Linked DNA regions of Homo sapiens: region 1 is linked to region 2. Evidence: promoter capture Hi-C in human tissues and cell types (Jung and others, 2019). All regions are on one chromosome and are shown on one strand. Each heading gives the region's core, a stretch centred on a gene start or on the middle of the fragment in contact. The rest is flanking DNA. Distances are from core to core; before and after follow the strand shown. Region 1 overlaps UBE2L3 (ubiquitin conjugating enzyme E2 L3). Region 2 holds the start of PPIL2 (peptidylprolyl isomerase like 2).

What was found. The method cuts DNA at HindIII sites, captures the fragments that hold promoters and counts their contacts. A contact is called where the count stands out against the background at its distance.
Region 1: a fragment that was not itself captured here is called in contact with the fragment with the promoter of PPIL2 in region 2 in 10 of the 25 tissues and cell types used here (IMR-90 fibroblasts, aorta, heart left ventricle and 7 more).

Annotation. Positions count from the first base shown.
Region 1 is chr22:21,613,757-21,620,463 of GRCh38, reverse strand. The region is part of intron 3 of UBE2L3 (ubiquitin conjugating enzyme E2 L3); the gene reads right to left. Among named protein-coding and RNA genes, the nearest start is that of YDJC, 13 kb to the left of the region's middle. The HindIII fragment of the contact is 9,374 bases long and covers 1-6,315 here.
Region 2 is chr22:21,661,595-21,668,213 of GRCh38, reverse strand. PPIL2 (peptidylprolyl isomerase like 2) reads right to left here and starts at 2,202. Exons shown (of 20, transcript NM_014337.4): 1 at 2,083-2,202. The coding sequence starts at 2,114. It also overlaps the pseudogene LOC107985532. RefSeq lists enhancers at 1,766-1,815, 1,886-2,125, 1,360-2,270. The HindIII fragment of the contact is 22,549 bases long and covers 1-6,619 here.

The DNA of each region.
Region 1 (6,707 bases), core at 379-2,878, 47 kb after region 2:
CGAACTGCTGATGCCACAAATTCCTTCTTATTTTTTTTAGACAGTCTTGCTGTCACTCAGACTGGAGTGCAGTGGCTCAATCATACTTTACTGCACGGTACCCTCAAACTCCTGGGTGTAAATGATCCTCCTGCCTCAGCTTCCTGAGTAGCTGAGACTACAAGCACATGCCATCACGTCCAGCTAATTTTTTTTTTTAACCTAGGCTAGAGTACAGTGGTGCAATCACAGCTCACTGCAGTCTTATCTCCTGGGCTCAAACAATCCTCCCACCTTGGCCTTGAGAGTAGTTGGGATTACGGGTGTTAGCCACTGCTCCTGGCCTAGTTTTTTGTAGAGATGGGGTCTCACTATGTTGCCCAGGCTGGTCTCAAACTCCTGGGCTTGAGTGATCCTACCGCCTCATCCTCCCAAAAGTGCTAGGATGACAGGCATGAAGCCACTGCACCTGGTCAATTCCTTTATTAAGGGCTCATATTGTTCATTCAGCATTACAAGAAATGGATTAAAATGCAAATGCTAGCCAGGCAGATCACCTGAGGTCAGGAGCTCAAGACCAGCCTGGGCAACATGGTGAAACCCCGTCTCTACTAAAAATACAAAAATTAGCCAGGCATGGTGGCCCATGCCTAGAGTCCCAGCTACTCAGGAGGCTGAGGCAGGAGAATCGCTTGAACCCGGGAGACGGCAGTTGCAGTGAGCCGAGATCGTGCCACTGCACTCTAGCTTGGGCAACAGAGCGAGACTCTGTCTCAAAAGTAAATAAATAAAACAAAATGCTGATGCTGGCTGAGTCATATGCAAAGGCATAATCATTCAACAGCACACATTAAGTGAGGGCCACAGCACAAAGTACTCCTGGCCTGGTGTCCAAAACCCACCTGCCTAACCTCTGCTTTTTACTGTGCCTGGTGAGAATGGGAAAGAGAGGGCTCCTGTGACCACAGTGGGTAGAGGTGAAGCAGTGGGGCAGAGGCGAGGAGGGCATTGCGCATGCAATGCTGACAGGTTCCACGTTTGTTGGGGGTGGATGGGCAAGGAGGGTGGACTGTGAACAGCAAGCAGGGGCAAGGGGCCTGGAAAGCTCTCTGCAGGCCAGGGTGGCCTCTAATTCAGTCTCTAAGCCTCTTCAGGGGTAGGTGGTATCACCTCCCTGTACAAGCCACCTGTACCTCTAGAGGCAGCAGGCCCTGGAGGTATATTTTTATTTAATAAACATTTATTTATTTATTTAATAAACGAAGCCCACCCTTGGCTGACTGGCCACAGTGTATTTCAGTGCACACCACCCTCGGTGTGAGACTGCTCCCTTTTCCTGGCTGTTCTTGACTTCAGGGCTGGAAATTGAGCCACAGTCGCCTAAGAGCACAAATAGGTGGCTCCCCTTCCTTTCCCATGATTAGAAATGGCCCTGTAACAGGAGAATTACTACCGCATTAGCATTTTAGAAACCTCACTGGGCTAAGGACAGGCTGAGTACTTCGTTAGGGGCACGCTCAGGAGTTTTCACCTCACTCTCTGATATGAATACTTAGGCTCTCTACTTCTCACTATCATCACCTTGGTAACTAATGCAGAGGTTGGTGGCTCACACCTGTATTCCCAGCACTTTGGGAGGCCAAGGAGGAAGGATCACTTGAGGCCAGGAGTCTGAGACTGGCCTGGGCAACATAGCAAGACCTGGCCTCTACAAAAAATAAAAAATAAAATTAGCCGGTTGTGGTGGCACATGCCTGTAGTCCCAGCTCCTTGGGAGGCTGAGGTGGGATGATTGCTTGAGCCCACAATATTGAGGCTGTAGTGAGCTGTGATTGTGCCACTATACTCAGCCTGAGTGACACAGCAAGACCCTATCGCAAAAAAAAAATAATATATATATATATTTTTTGAGATGGAGTCTCGCTCTGTCGCCCAGGCTGAGTTAGTGGCACAATCACAGCTCACAATCTCGGCTCACTGCAAGCTCCGCCTCCCAGGCTCATGCCATTCTCCTGCCTCAGCCTCCCGGGTAGTGGGATTACAGGCACCTGCCACCATGCCCGGCTAATTTTCTGTAATTTTTTAGTAGAGACGGGGTTTCACCGTGTTAGCCAGGATGGTCTCGATCTCCTGACCTCGTGATCCACCTGCCTCCGCCTCCCAAAGTGCTGGATTACAGGCGTGAGCCACTGCACCTGGCAAAATAAAAATTTAAAGACCTATTTCTCAAAAGATGCCATTTGTCTATTTCGTTATTTTTTATAGTTTCACTAATTTGATCAAGTCTGAATTTTTTTTTTAATTGAGATGGCGTCTCACTCTGTCGCCCAGGCTGGAGTGCAGTGGCACAATCTCAGCTCACTGAAACCTCCACCTCCTGGGTTCAAGGGATTCTCCTGCCTCAACTTCCCCAGTAGCTGGGACTACAGGCATCCGCCACCACGCCTTGCTAATTCTTTGTAATTTTAGTAAAGATGGGGTTTCACCATGTTACCCAGGATGGTCTTGATCTCCTGACCTCATGATCCACCCATCTCATCCTCCCAAAGTGCTGGGATTACAGGCATGAGCCACCATGCCCGGCCTCAAGTCTGAGTATTTTTAAATTTACTTAGTAGTTCTGATAAGTATTTCATTCTTTCGCTGTTCCCCTGGGTGCATTTCTGGCTCCTTAGCTAAACTATAATAAACTTCAGCTGAGCTGAACTTATTTTGCTAGTAAGAACACCTGACAGATTGTCTGCTTTACAAATTACAACTGTGGCCCTCTATCAACATTTTTCATATATAGGACAGCATATTAAAATTATATTTTATAAAACATCCAGCCCTGGGTTCTTGGTCTCTTCCATGACCCAAATGCTCCTCAGAAGTACTTTTTTTTTCTGCAAAATGTAGGGGCTTAAAAACATACAACAGGCCGGGCGCAGCAGCTCACACTTGTAACCCTAGCACTTTGGGAAGCCGAAGTGGGCAGACTGTCTGAGCTCAGGAGTTCAAGACCAGCCTGGGCAATATGGTGAAACCTTGTCTCTACTAAAATACAAAAAACTAGCCAGGTGTGGTGGCATGCGCCTGTAGTCCCAGCTACTCGGGAGGCTGAGGGAGGAGAAATGCTTGAATCCAGGAGGCGGAGGTTGCAATGAGCCAAGATTATGCCACTGCACTCCAGCCTGGGTGACAAAGTGAGACTCTGTCCCCCCAACAAAAAACAAAAAACAAAAAACCCACACAACAAATTAGCCAATTTTACCTTTTACTCTCACTATATTCTCATCAGAGAATAAAGCCTATAATATTTCCTTCCTTTTGTTCCTTTTCTTTTTTTTTTTTTTTTTTTAAGACAGAGTTTCGCTCTGTTGCCCAGGCTGGAGTGCAGTGGCAGCAGCTGGGACTACAGGTGCCCGCAACCACGCCCGGCTAATTTTTGGTGTTTTTAGTAGAGACGGGGTTTCACCGTGTTAGCCAGGATGGTCTCGATCTCCTGACCTCGTGATCTGCCCGCCTCGGCCTCCCAAAGTGCTGGGATTACAGACATGAGCCACCGTGCCTGGCCCTTTTGTTCTTAATGACAGTTTCTCTGCAATAGCGGATGTAAACAATATTTGTGATTTCCCCTCCTTTTCATAAAAATCCAGGGAGCTTCATTGTCAAAGAATAAAATGTCAATGTACCTTCAACCCAAAAAGATATGCAATGTTGTAGCCTTCCATGGAATGTGCTTTAAAAAAAGGGGGGGGGTGTTTTGTTTTGTTTTTTTGCCCCCCAAGTAGCTGGGATTACAGGTGCCTGTCACCACGCCTGGCTAATTTTTTTTTTTTTTTTTGGAGATGGAGTCTCGCTCTCACTCTGTCACCCAGGCTGGAGTGCAGTAGCGTGATCTCAGCTCACTGCAACCTCCGCCTCTCGGGTTCAAGTGATTCTCCTGCCTCAGCTTCCTGAGTAGCTGGGACTACAGGTGCACGCCACCGTGCCCAGCTAATTTTTTTTGTATTTTTAGTAGGGACGGGGTTTCACCACGTTGGCCAGGATGGTCTGGATCTCTTGACCTTGTGATCCGCCCACCTCGGCCTCCCAAAGTGCTGGGATTACAGGCGTGACCCACCACGCCCAGCCTGGAACATTTTCATCCCCCAAAAAGAAAACCCACTCTCAGTAGTCACTTCCTATTCTCCTCCTCCTAGACCCTGACAATCACTAATCTACTTTGTCTCAATGGATCCACCCTAGTCTGAGCATCCCATATACAGCTGAATTTTATCTGTAGTGCTTATGTTCTATAAACTTGCCATGAACATTGAATTAATGATACTGAATCATTGCTCCTAAGGGAAACAGAGGTTTAGGTTCAAACAAGCCTCTGCTCACATTTTTGCCAGCTGATTAATATATAACTTTGTTTTATGTGTGTTTAAAGACACCTTATTTAATAGGTAATATTGACTCAGCAGCACTATAACTCATGCCCAAATAAAGCTTATCTCACACATGTATTTTCTCCAAAAGGCATATCATGACCTTCTGTGCTCAGGAATACTAGACAGCACTTCAGCACCACGTTTGGGGCCAAAGCAAAATCACCAACAAAAAGCACAAAATCCAAGAAGTTTGGCATTAGACAGCCCACTTGCTTCAGTTGAGAGCTGAAACAAGAAGGCAGGGCATCGCACTGTTCAACCACACAACCTCAGCTGGAACACGTGCATGGGGTACTTCAAATTTTTTGCTGCTCTGCACACGCACACATCTGTGATAGACGAGTGCCGAGAGTATTGATTTTGGGGCTACAAAAAACTTTAGTGAGTAGGCAAATTCGCAAACGCAGACTCTATGAACAATGAGGCTCAACTACAAATGGAATCATACAATATGTGGCCTTCCATGGATGGTTCTTTCATTTAGCATATTTTCTTTCTTTTTTTTTTTTTTTGAGACGGAGTCTTGCTCTGTCGCCCAGGCTGGAGTGCAGTGGCGTGATCTCGGCTCACTGCAATCTCCGCCTCCCAGGTTCACGCCATTCTCCTGCCTCAGCCTCCCGAGTAGCTGGGACTACAGGCGCCTGCCACCAAGCTCGGCTAATTTTTTTTATTTTTAGTAAAGACAGGGTTTCACCATGTTAGCCAGGATGGTCTCAATCTCCTGACCTTGTGATCTGCCCGCCTTGGCCTCCCAAAGTGCTGGGACTACAGGCGTGAGCCACCGCGCCCGGCCCATTTAGCATATTTTCAAGGTTTATGTACCATAAGACAGTACTTCATTGCTTTTTATGGCTAAATAATATTTCATTGTAGAGATACACCATTTTTTGTTGTTTGTTTTGTTTTGTTTTGAGACGGAGTTTGGCTCTTGTTGCCCAGGCTGGAGTGCAATGGCACAATCTTGGCTCACTGCAACCTCTGCCTCCCAGGTTCAAGTGATTCTCCAGCTTCAGCCTCCCATGTAGCTGGGATTACAGGCGCCCGCCACCACACCCAGCTAATTTTTTGTATTTTTAGTAGAGACAGGGTTTCACCATGTTGGCCAGGCTGGTCTTGAACTCCGGACCTCAGGTGATCCACCCGCCTCAGCCTCCCAAAGTGCTGGGATTACAGGCGTGAGCCACCACGCCTGGCTCACATTTTGTTTATTCACTCACCAATTGATGGACATTTGGGCTCTTTTCACTTCTTATCCATTGTGAATAATGGTGCTATGAACATCTGTGTACAAGTTTTTATTGGGCATATGTTTTCATTTCTCTTGGGTAGATATAGCTAAGAGTGGAATTGCTGGGTCATATGAGCATCTTTTCATATTACTATTTCTTCCATTATGCTTACTTTTCTGTACTTGTGGGTGGCTAAAGTCAGCTACAGGTTGTGAATTGAGGAGGTCAAAGAACTTCAAGGCTGGATCTGAGAGAAGCCATAATTGGGAACGCTGAAGTTTCTAAGGACAAGGGCAGGAGACAAAAATCATGAGCAGGTGCTCTGGAGACAAAGGAAGAGCGCTGGAAGATTACAGCAGGAGGGTGGCACAAGTGGCTTTTTCCCTTTCTTTCTTTCTTTTTTTTTTTTTGGTACAGACGGGGTTTCACCATGTTCCTCAGGCTGGTCTCAAACTCCTTGGCTCAAGCAATCTGCCTGCCCCAGCCTCCCAAAATGCTGGGATTACAGGCGTGAGCCACTGTGCCCGGCCTCAGGTGGCACTTTCACTTCCCATATTTAAGAAACAAATGAAGGAATGGTGAGGCATTTAAAAAGGCAGGCTTTGCAGGACAGTGGCAGCTGAACAGCAGTCAGGAAATAGCACCAGAAAAACAGGGACACCCAACATATGAAGAATCAGGCAGGTGGGAGAAGGAATGGCATGTCCAGAGGAGCTGCCATTTGGGAAAAGCAGGCCCAAGTGGGCCTGAGGAGGCAGCAAGGGGACTCAGCAACCTTGCCTGCCTGTCCCACCTCTGCCATCATGTCTCCCATCCTGCATACTCCTCCCATCAAGAGCTGAAGTCTATTTTCCCTCTCATTAAATCTGGACTTGCCTGACCAAAAGAATCCACAGAAGTGACACCGTACCAGTTCTATGCCTTCACCCTGGAACCCTGAGACCACCATGCTATGAAGGGGTCCAATGTAGCCTTGTGGAAAATAAGAGAACACAAAGAGAACCGAAGTGCCTTAGCTAATACCATTTCCGCACATGTGCACTATGCCTACCAGCTCTTCCCAGCCAAGTTGAGTTCCCAC
Region 2 (6,619 bases), core at 953-3,452:
GGGGTTCTCTTGGCCACAAGGGTGTCTGCTTAGCCAGTGGGGGGACTTAGGGTTTTATTTTTAGTTTACAGGGAGGAGCAGGCTCAAGAGCTGAAAATCAAGAGTTCTGTTTAAGGCATATTAAATTCGAGATGTCTGGCCCGGCACGGTGGCTCACGCCTGTAATCCCAGCACTTTGGGAGGCAGAGGTAGGTCGATCACTCGACGTCAGGAGTTCGAGACCGGCCTGACCAACATAGTGAAAACCTGTCTCTACTAAAAATACAAAAATTAGCATGGGCATGGTGGCAGGCACCTATAATCCCAGCTACTGGGGAGGCTGAGGTGGGAGAATTGCTTGAATGTGGGAAGTAGAGGTTGCAGTGAGCCAAGACGGCACCATTGCACTCCAGCCTGGGCGACAGAGCAAGACTCCATCTCAAAAAAAAAAAAAAAAAAAAAAAAAAAATTTGAGATGTCTTTCAGTCCTCCAGTGGAGATATTAAGTAAGCCACTAACTACACAAGACTGGGGAAAGCAGCTTATAGATGACTGGGAAATTATATCACCCACAGAGAATGTTTATGGAAAAGAAACGTATGAGATCTGAGAGAAGGGAGGAGGGTCCAGAAAGGAGACTGGGAAAAGAAAGACCGCTGAAGTCGATGGAAAACAAAGAGCATGTGAAATCCCAGATACCAAAGAAGGGCTTCAGAAGGAGGGAGTGGTCAACAGTGGGACATACTGTTGAGAAGCCCAACAAAATGAGGACTGAGGCTGCCCAGACGCGGTGGCTCACGCCTGTAATCCCAGGACTTTGGGAGGCCGAGGCAGGTGGATCACCTGAGGTCAGGAGTTCGAGACCAGCCTGACCAACATGGAGAAACCCCTTCTCTACTAAAAATACAAAATTAGCTGGGCATGGTGGCGTATGCCTGTAATCCCAGCTACTCGGGAGGCTGAGGCAGGAAAATCTCTTGAAGCCGGGAAGCGGAGGTTGCGGTGAGCCAAGATCTCACCATTGCACTCTAGCTTGGGCAACAAGAGCGAAACTGCGTCTCAAAAAAAAAAAAAAAAAAAAATGAGGACTGAGGATTGAATACTATATTTAGCAACAAGAAGTCGCTGGGAACCTGAAAAGAGAGGCCGCTGAAGTCGAGAGAAAACAAAGAGCAGGTGAAATCCCAGATACCAAAGGAGGGCTTCAGAAAGAGGGAGTGGTCAACGGTGTGACATACTGTTGAGAAGCCCAACAGTTCTGGGGTCGAAATTCTGACTTGAGTGGTTTCAAGAGACTCAGAAAACAGCATGAAGCCACTAGTCTCTCACTTGTTCTTAAGAGAAACAACACGGCGGCAGCGGGAGGGGAACGTGGGACGTGGGGCACGGGGCACGGGTGGATTTTTAAATTTTATTTATTATTTTTGAGACAGCGTCTCGCTCTGTCGCCCAGGCTGGAGTGCAGTGACACGATCTCGGCTCACCGCAACCTCCGCCTCCCGGGTTCAAGCGATTCCCCTGCCTCAGCCTCCCAAATAGCTAGGATTACAGGCGCCCGTCACCACGCCCCGCTAATTTTTGTATTTTTAGTAGAGACGGGGTTTCACCGTATTAGCCAGGCTGGTCTTGAACTCCTGACCTCAGGTGATCCGCCCGCCTCGGCCTCCCAAAGTGCTGTGATTACAGGTGAGCCACTGCGCCCGACCTGGTTTGCTTTAAATTAGAAGGCTCTGCAGCACGTTTGCAGGCTGATAGGCATGAACCAGAACACAGCGAGACGTGAAGTACGGAAGAGGTAGAGACTACTCATTCAAGGGCGAAACTCGCGAACAGACGGGGGACGGTCCGGGCAGAACCAGAGTAAGGAAAACCGGGCTGCGCTCGAGCCCGCAGCTGACGTCATCGGAGCCGCGGCCCCGGGAGAGCGCGGCGGCCCGAGGGTCATTACCCTGACTGGAGACAGGGCGGCAGCTTCCGGGAGGAAGTGACCTTTGGGCTGTGCTCTGGGGAGTAGCTGAGAGGGAAGGCGAGCGGCGCGCAGTGCGGGACAGGCGGTTCACTGAGGCAGAGTGGAGCGCCGCTCCCGACTGCGGCTCAACTTACATTTTGTCCTTTTGGTGCTGTCGCTTCCCCATGGCGGAGCGGCGGCGGCGACTAGCGAGCACGAAAAAACAACGGCTGACAACTCAGACCATGGAGCCGCAGCCGAGTTCCGTGACCACTTCCGGGTTCCGCGGCGCGCCCCGGAAACGGGCGCCTGGCGTGCTGGGAATTGTGGTTCGCTAGCGCCAGGTGCTCATGCTCGGAAGGATCGCCTGCCCAGTATGGGGTCCTAGCTAGGTGTGCCATCTCCCGCAGGCGTCTTTTCGGGGCCGAGCTCCCTCAGCCTCGAAGCCCCATCTTCTTGAGGGGTCTGTCTGGACCGCCTTGTCTACCCCCCTAGCCACGGCTCAGGGCCATTCCCATACTGGGTTCTCAGGTCTTATTTATTTATTTTCGAGACAGGGTCTCGCTCTGTCGCCCAGGTTGGAGTGCAGTGGCACAATCACAGCTCACTACTGCCTCGACCTCCCAGGCTCAAGCGATTCTCCCACCTCAGCCTCCCGAGTAGCTACGGGCACGCACCACCACACCCGGCTAATTTGTTAATTTTTTGTAGAGACAGGCTCTTACAATGTTGCCCAGGCTGGTCTGGAGCTCTTGAGCTCAAGCAGTCCTCCCGCCTTGGCCTCCCAAAGTGCTGGGATTACAGGCCTGAGGCTTCGCGCCCGGCCAGCGCTCAGGTCTTTTTCAACGTCCTCCTAGAGCTTCAAGTCTCATGAGCCTCCACCCCATCCCTTCCCGCCTCCGTGGCAGATGCCTTCAAAGCCATGTACCACTCTCGTTCTACTCGCTCACTTCTCATTCTCTCTGCATATTCGGTCCCCACCGCCTCCAGGCCCCTCGGAGGCCCAGCAGCAGGTGGCCATCAAGCCTAGAGGTCCAAAGCCCTACCTGATCCCTTCCGTCTCTTCTGCCAGACCCTTCCCTTGGGTCAGATCAGTACCTTGGGCCCCTAGCTACACTCAGGCCCAGGGTAATCTTGCCTAGGCTCCTAATTTTAAATGCCATTTGTATCCCATGACTCCCAGTACTAAGTCACCAGCACTCCAGGTTCCTGATCTCCACTTGGGTAACCACTGATCTGAAATGTAACATGTCTGGATGGGCGTGGTGGCTCACGCCTGTAATCCCAGCACTTTGTGTGTGTGTGTGTGTGTGTGTGTGTGTGTGTGTTTAGTAGAGACGGGGTTTCACCATGTTAGCCAGGATGGTCTCGATCTCCTGACCTCCTGATTCGCCTGCCTTGGCCTTCCAAAGTTCCGGGATTACAGGCGTGAGCCACCACGCCCGGCCAATCCCAGCACTTTGAGAGGCTGAGGCAGGCGGATCACTTGAGGTCAGGAGTTCAAGACTAACCTGGCCAACATGGCAAAACCCCATCTCTACTAAAAATACAAAAAATTAGCCTGGTGTGGTGGCACACACCTGTAATTCCAGCTACTTGGGAGGCCGAGACAGTAGCTTGAACTGGGGAGGCAGAGGTTGCCGTGAGCCAAGATTAGGCCACTGCATCCCAGCCTGGGTGACAGAGTGACTCTGCCTAAAAAAATTAAATTAACATGTCTGGTCAAAGTAGAATTTTCTTTTTTTTTTTCTTTTTTTTTTTGACATGGAGTTTTGCTCTTGTTGCCCAGGCTGGAGTGCAATGGTGTGATCTTGGCTCACTGCAACCTCCGCCTCCCAGGTTCAAGCGATTCTCCTGCCTCAGTCTCCCAGGTAGCTGGGATTATTACAGGCATGCGCCACCACGCCTGGCTAATTTTGTATTTTTAGTAGAGAAGGGGTTTCTCCATGTTGGTCAGGCTGGTCTCGAACTCCCGACCTCAGGTGATCCTCCCGCCTCAGCCCTCCCAAAGTCCTGGGATTACATGCATGAGTCACCGCACCCGGCCATAAAGCAGAATTTTCAATCCTCCCTCTTCTCCCAGTCCCCACTCTGCTGAGCAGTACCACCATCCACCCAGTCACCGAAAGCCAGCTATCTTTGCCTTATTTCATGGCTGGCTTCTTATTCTCTAGGTTTTAACATAAGTGTCACCTCCCCAGAGAGACCTTCCCTAACCACCCACTTCCATGCATCTCCCATAAAGTCTGTCACAATTCCTCACAATTTGTAATCCTGTGTAATTCAGTCTGTGTCCCGGTTTACTGAGCACCCTCCCTGACACAACCACTGCCTCCATGACACACATACAGTGGATGGGATGTAGCTCCTTAAGGGCTGGAATCTTAGGCCCAGCATGGTGGCAGCACCTGTGATTCCAGCTACTTGGGAGGCTGTAGTGGAAGGATCACTTGAGGCCCAGGAGTTTGAGGCTGCAGTAAACTATGATCAAGCCACTGCACTCTAGCCTGGGCAACAGAGTGAGATCCTGTCTCTTTAAAAAAGGGCCGGGGTGTGGGGAGGGGACAGTCGGTGCGGTGGCTCACGCCTGTAATTCCAGCACTTTGGGAGGCTAAGGCGGTTGGATCACCTGAGGTCAGGAGTTCGAGACCAGCCTGGCTAACATGGTGAAGCCCTGTCTCTACTAAAAATACAAAAATTAGCTGGGCGTGGTGGCATGTGCCTGTGATCCCAGCTCCTCAGGAGGCCTGAGGCATGGTGATCGCTTGAACCTGGGAGGCAGAGGTTGCAGTAAGCTGAGATCGCGCCACTGCACTACAGCCTGGGCAACAGAGCACAACTCTGTCTCTAAATAAGCAAGCAAACAAATAAATACAAACCAATTAAAAATAACCCATTTGTGGTGATGCACCATGATGACTCAGTCAGAAAGCAAAATGCACCAATAACCTAAAAATTGACCCCATTGGAGAAATATTTCAAAAAGCAAGAACAGTTGAGTAAATGATGTTCCACCCGTTTGATGGAATATTTTGTATCTATTGTTATTGGTGAACTTAAAGATTTATTATTATTATTATTATTATTATTATTATTACTTTTTATTTTTTGAGATGGAGTCTCGTACTGTTGCCCAGGCTGGAGTACAGTGGCGTGATCTCGGCTCACTGCAAGCTCCACCTCCCGGGTTCAAGCAATTCTCCTGCCTCAGCCTCCCGAGTAGCTGGGACTACAGGTGCCTGCCTCCACCCTCTGGGCTCAAGAGATTCTCCCACTCACGCCTCCCAAGTAGCTGGGACTACAGGTGCGCACCAACATGCCTGGCTAATTTGAATACCTGAGCTCAAGTGATCCCCCACCTCACTCCTCCCAAATTGCTGGGATTACAGTAGTGCACCACCACGCTCGGCCAGAATTCTGAATTGTCTTTTTATAAAACAGTGTGAGTTCCTTACACAAAAAGTCCTCTGAATTCTTTTTTTTTTTTTTAAAGACAGAGTCTCACTTTGTCGCCAGGCTGGAGTTCAGTGGCACGATCTTGGCTCACTGCAACCTCTGCCTCCTGGGTTCAAGCGATTCTTCTGCCTCAGCCTCCCAAGTAGCTGGGACTGCAGGCATGAGCCACCACGCCCTGCTGATTTTTGTATTTTTAGTAGAGACAGGGTTTCACCATGTTGGCCAGGATGGTCTCCATCTCTTGACCTCGTGATCCGCCCGCCTCAGCCTCCTAAAGTGCTGGGATTATAGGTATGAGCCATTGTGCCCAGCCAAGGCCTTTGAATTCTTATTCATTGCTGGATGCAAAATGGTACAGTCTTTTTGGAAGACAGTTTGGCTATCGTACCCTATGATTCAGCAAGCATGCTCCTTGGTATTTACCCAAATGAGTTGAAAAGTTATGTATACTCTAAAACCTCCACACAGATGTTTATACTGCTTTATTCATAATTGCAAAACTTGGAGGCAACCAGGATATCCTTCATTGGGCGAATGATAAAATGTGGCATATCCAGGCAATGGAATATTATTCAATGCTGAAAAAGATGAGCGGCCAGGTGTGGTGGCCTAACTGCCTGCACCTCTTGACTCCCCACTTAGCCTGTGTGACTCATTCAGGTCTGGCCTCCACCTCCAGGCAGTCCTCCATCCCCCAGGCTGGGTTCAGACCTCCTTAGTTCCCAGCGTGCCCGACCCCATCTCCTGTACCCCTAACCAAGCTCAAGGTGGGCACAAGAGATGGTCCCAATGTATCTGCTGAGTGAATGAAAGCCACGTCATTCTTATGGCTCTTCTATAAGGTACTTTTCTTCAAATGAGGCCAACAAACTTATCCTGAGATTTCCTTTCTATCCTCCAGGTGAAGAATTTGGACATTTCAAGATCTGAAGTGAAATTAAACTGGAATGGCCTGTCACGAAACCCAAGGAGGTCGAAGGGGTTTACTCTGGGCTTGAGGGAAATGAAAAAGGAGCATCTTGGGGAGTGTCCCATGTGCCAGCCTAGGTCACCATTTCTTCTCAGTCTGTTAGTGAATCCTCACAACCATCCTGAGTGCTTATTCTCATTTTACAGTGGAGGGGTCTGGGCTCAGAGGTTGGCTCTGTGTAGGCAGTGCCTGTGCCCGTGCTGTAGAACTGCACATGAGGTGTGGAGGGGCCTGGGGCTGACGTCCCCTCTCTGCCCTGTCTTGCA